Linked DNA regions of Homo sapiens: region 2 is linked to region 1. The links are contacts of gene promoters, found by promoter capture Hi-C in blood cells and fetal thymus (Javierre and others, 2016). All regions are on one chromosome and are shown on one strand. Each heading gives the region's core, a stretch centred on a gene start or on the middle of the fragment in contact. The rest is flanking DNA. Distances are from core to core; before and after follow the strand shown.

Region 1 (2,576 bases), core at 52-2,551:
AAACTGCTAGCCGGGAAAACGGGCGCCCCAGGAAGCTGGGGCCGCGACGGCCTAGGGCCTGGCTGGTGTTTCGCTTCCCCTCCGCCCCACCACGGAGGCCCCTGGCGCGACCAGGCTCCAAATGTCACCCTCGCGTCCTGCCACCCCTTGTCCCCGCCGCACTCGGCCCCCATGTCCTCCTCCCGGGTTCCCTGCCTTCAAGGCGCGTGAGAGGGGGGGCCGGCCTCGAAAAGGGCGGCGGGCTGCGCCGCCGTCTGTGGGGCGCAAGGCTCGCGTGTCCGGGGCCCCCGCCCGTGACGTCATCCCCGAAGGGCCCGTGCCTCCCGGGCCTGGCCGCTACAGAGCTCCCCAGGTCGCGGGGGCCGCTTCCTGCCCGGCCTCGGGGCCTGCGCACAGGCCCCGGGGCCGCTGCCCGGGTAGGGACACCGCAGAGAGCCCGAGCACCCATCTCGCCACGCACGGCCTTCGCCGGCCCTGACTCCCAAGCGATGGCCACGCCGGGCCCGGGTCACGCATGGGGAAGTCAGCTCCCCGTCCCCCACCTCGGACGCACTCACAAAGCTCACCTCCGCCCCCGGCGCCCCGCGAATGCACCCCACGTCCCCACCCCACGCTCCGCAAAGACTCCGCGCCTCGGCGCAAGCAGATCCCTTGCCACACTCGCCCCTCGCGCCCCCATGCCCCCACCCGACCTCAGCTGGCCGCACATCCCCCAGAAGACCCTCAGCCGCGGCGCAGGGCGCCCCCACCCTGCAGCTCCCCAGACGTCCATCCGGTGACCTCGCGCACCCCCCACACCACACAAAGCAAGGACCCCGCGGACCCCACATCTCCACCCAGCGCGCGCGCTCGGCGTCCGAACCCGCCTCGGCTCATCACCCGGCCTAGGATCCCGACGCCTCGCGCCGCCCCCGCCCCGGGGCAGGATACACTGCGCCCCCCGCGCCCCGGCGCTCGCTGCTCACCTCGGCGCCCGCGCTCACTCGGGGGCCTTGGGTCTGGCGCTGCGACTTCGCGGCCCGGAGGCCTGGGTGGCCATGGGGGTCGGGGCGCGGCGGCCCGGCCGGCCCGCGGCCAGGCAGGAAGGAGGGTGGGCCGCGGCGCCCCCTCCTCGCGCCGGCGCTAGGGCCGCGGGCAGGGCGGCCTGCTCGGCTCGCCTCTCGCCCTCGCTGCACTCGCTCTCCCACTCGTCTCTCGGAGCCCAGCCGCGGGCGGGGGCGGCGCCCGGGGACGCGGGGAGCGGGCCTTGGCCGCGCACCCGGCCGGGCCTGCCTGGTGTCCGCGGGTGCCGCGAGGAATGCGATCCCCTCCGCACAGGAAGAGCGGACGAGCGGACGGGCGGGCGGGCGACGCGCGGGGGGAGAAGGAGAGCAAGAGCGCGAGGAAAAAAGTTCCCGGGCGGCCTGGCTGCGCTCGCTCGCGGCCCCGGGCGCCAGGTGGGCCGTGCGCGCCCCGACAGCACCCCCTGGCGGTCCGCGCGCCCCACTGCGCGCCCCCCGCCCGCTGGCCGGCCTGCGGGAGGGGGCCTCTGCGGTGGGATCCCGGTGCGGCCTGGGAGGACACTAGCGCCCTGCGTACAGGAGCTTCCAGCGTCAGGCCAGGCCCCCACCCTCACCCCACCATTAGCCCTCACCTGTGCCCACTTCTTTGCAGTTTGAGAAACATTTTCGATTTCAAAACTCCATTGGCTTCATGTAAACTTCATTTACTGGGCACCTGGCACCTTGCTGAGTCTTGAGGAATCAGCAGAGACAATGCGGTCCCTGCTGTCGTGGAGCTGGCATCCTGGTGGGAAGAGACAGACAGCAAACAAATGCTTAGATACATGACGAAGATAATTTTAGAGCAGTAAGTGCTAGGACGAAAATTAGCAGGTGAAGTGACGGCTAGGGCTCCTTGGCTGGGGGAGAGAGAAGGAGGCCTGTCTGTGCAAAGATCTAAATAGCAAGAGGAACCGCCATGGGTAGAGTCTGGGAAGAGCATTTTGTTCTTTTAGAGGCAGGGTCTTGCTGTGTTGCCCAGGCCGAACTTGAATTCCTGGCCTCAAACAGTCCTCCCACCTCAGCCTTCTGAGTAGCTGGGACTACAGGGGCCTGCCCTCCTGGGAAGAGCATCATTGGCAGAAAGAACATCAAGTGCAAAGGTCCTGAGGCAGGAGAGAACTTGGTGAGTAAGTGGAATTGTGAGGAGGCCGTCAGCAAGGGGACAAGTAATGGGCACATTGAAGTCAGAGCCATATCGGGAGGGCCAGAGCCTGCAGGGCTGCAGAGAGCTCAGTGAGGAATTTGTTTGCAATTCTAGTGCAAGGAAGGTAGCCACTGGCAGACTTTAAACAGAGGCATGTTGAATGAGAGAGTCCTTGCATGAAACTTAAGGTACAGACCTCGGAGCAATTTCATGCCTAGGTCTCTACTTGCCATAGCTCAGGTGGGAGCTCACTGCCACCTGCTTGGGAAGCCTCTCAGCCCCACCCAGGCTCTAGGGTCTGTGGGATATGACCCCATTAACAGCCCCATCGAAGCCTCCCTCATTTGTCCTTTGGTAGGGCAGAGGGGAGCTGGTCAAGGCATCAGAGC
Region 2 (2,576 bases), core at 58-2,557, 260 kb before region 1:
TGCTGAGGGTCTTGAGTGCTTTTCTTCCTTCATTCTTTCAGGCTTACCTTATTCCTGCTCTTTGTTCAGGAGTCACAGCTCATTTCTTCCCTGAAAGCCTGACTTCTCCATGCTCTGCACCCACAGGACTCTCTCCTGGCTATGGCATGCCAGAGTCCATCCCTGAGCTGGGTGGGGGCAGTGCTGACTCTGAAATTCAAATTCTCCCTCATATTGGCAGCATGACTTTTTGGACAAGTTATCATACTTTTCTGAGCCTCATCTTCCTCATCTGTAAAATGATTCTAATAGTATTTATTGCATAGGGTTGTATAAAGCTACCAATTATTGATTACTCTTGCTATATGCCAGCCACTCTTATCAGTGCTTGACCCGTATAAGCTCATCTCATCTGAGTAACAACCCTATGCAGCAGAACTCTTCTTCCTTTTTTTTTTTTTTTTTTTTTTTTTTGAGATAGAGTCTTGCTCTGTCGCCCAGCCTGGAATGCAGAGGCGTGATCTCAGCTCACTGCGACCTCCGCCTCCTGGGTTCAAGTGATTCTCATGCTTCAGCCTCTCAGGCAGCTGGGATTACAGGCACCCGCCACCACACCTGGCTAGTTTTTGTATTTTTAGTAGAGATGAGGTTTCACCATGTTGGCCAGGCTGGTCTTGAACTCCTGACCTCAAGTGATCCTCCCGACTTGGCCTCCCAGAGTGCTAGGATTTACAGGCATGAGCCACCACACCTGGCCCAAAGCAGAATTCTTAACACTTCCATTTTATAGATGAGGAAGTAGAGGCTACTACAGAGCCTCCTACATAATGGGGACTCAACAAATGTGTTTATTGAGTTTGAATCTTTCCCTTACTTATACTTTCATTACATTTATAATCTCTGCCCTATGTTTAACTTTTCTCTAAGAATATTGAATGTGTCAATTTTATCTTCAAATTTACTTTTTAAACTTTGTGTTATAGAAAATTTTAAACATGCAAAAGTAGAATAGTATAATGAACTTCTACAAACCCTTTATAGAACTTCAACAATTATCAACTCATGACCTATTAGATTTTGTCAATATGCATACCCTGCCCATATTATTTTGAAGTAAGTCCCCCAAATCATATTATTTCAGCATATATTTCAATATGTATCTCTAAAAGAAAATGACTCATTTTAGAAACAATCACAATACTGTGATTGTACTTTTAAAATGTAATTTCCTATCATGTATCCAACTAGTGTTCAAAATTTTTAGTTGTCTCATAATGTCATATATTTTTTAAGACTGAATAGAATCTGCTAAGGTCTATCACAAGTACAGTGAGGTGACTGTGGGCAGTGGCTGGGCACAGCCCATCTGGGAGGCCTCCCATCAGATGAAAGTTAAGGTTCTTTTCAACTCTAAAAGCCAGCTGCCAACTTTTTGCCTGGTATTCGTCTCAACACCAAAAGTTAGGCACTGTTAGGGAGAGAAAGTCACACTAGAGAGGGCTGGCCTCTCTTTGCAAAGGTTTAATTCAGATGGAAGATACTTCAGTAATGGGTAGAAACAAATTACTTAGAGGCTGTCTGTATATCAAGGTTCTTCATTTTATCCTTTTCATCCCATTACTGAGTAGCTGCATTATAACTTATTGGTGAAACACTTGGGTTCAGAGGTCAGACAGAATGGAATTCTAGTCCAGGTGCCACTGCTTGCTGTGTGTGTGTCTGGGCAAGTCATTTAGCTTCTCTGGGCGGCCCCACCCCAGTGTATAGAAAGTGAGAATTATAAGTTTCGACCTAGACCGGGTGTGGTGGCTAATGCTTATAATCCCAGTACTTTAGGAGGCCAAGGTGGGGCGGTCACTTTAGCAAGACCTCTTTACAAAATATTAAAAAAAAAAAAAAACCCTTTCAACCTTTGCCTCATGGTGAGGATTAAATAAAGTAATGAGTTAAGGCATGTAGGATATTATAAGTCAGTAAAGGTTAGGTAGTATTGGTTTGTGACTATCTGCCTGCTGGGTTGCGTCCCTGTGCATTTATGAGTATGTGGGTAGAAGTGGAATCTGGAGAGATTTGTAACCTCATGCCTATCTTGAGTCTCATTGGCTTTTTCCAGAGCACGTCGTCACTCCATTCTCTAGTGGAGGATTGAGTGGCTCCTGTATTCCTCCCCAGTGCCTCTCCTGGTAGTCATTTATTATATAGAACATCCTAGTCAGAGCGGGACTGTTGTCAGCCTTATGTTACCAGTGAAGAAGGCAGCTTCAGGCCACTGCAGTGAAATCAAAGGCACCAAGGGTCTAAGAGGTAGAAGGAGCTCTCTGGGTTGCTGAGGGCAAGGTCTTAGGCACAGCAGGCACCCCTTCTAGAACGTCCTGCCAGGTGGCTACCCGCCCAGACTTGTATACCTCCAGTAATGGAAAACTCATTATCTCATAGGCAGCACATCCCACGTTGGTCTCTTCTCCAGTTAAATGAAAATGACTTGCTTAATTGGATCTAACTGCCTCCCTCTCATTTCTACCTGTAGTCCTGGGTCCTCTCCTCTTCCCATTGCACCACGCTGGGTGAGAGGGAGTAACACAGAGGGAGGTCTCTGC

The links. Contacts are between HindIII fragments. The CHiCAGO score rates a contact against its expected background, and 5 or more counts as called.
Region 2: a fragment that was not itself captured here is called in contact with the fragment with the promoter of RAI1 in region 1 in 2 of 17 cell types (total CD8 T cells and naive CD4 T cells); the score reaches 6.6 in total CD8 T cells.

Annotation. Positions count from the first base shown.
Region 1 is chr17:17,680,183-17,682,758 of GRCh38, reverse strand. RAI1 (retinoic acid induced 1) reads right to left here and starts at 1,301. Exons shown (of 6, transcript NM_030665.4): 1 at 966-1,301. RefSeq lists silencers at 1-590, 577-749, 761-840, 901-1,040, 1,071-1,580 and an enhancer at 659-1,260. The HindIII fragment of the contact is 10,976 bases long and covers 1-2,576 here.
Region 2 is chr17:17,938,070-17,940,645 of GRCh38, reverse strand. The region is part of intron 1 of TOM1L2 (target of myb1 like 2 membrane trafficking protein); the gene reads left to right. Among named protein-coding and RNA genes, the nearest start is that of TOM1L2, 33 kb to the left of the region's middle. RefSeq lists an enhancer at 1,627-1,716. The HindIII fragment of the contact is 2,943 bases long and covers 1-2,576 here.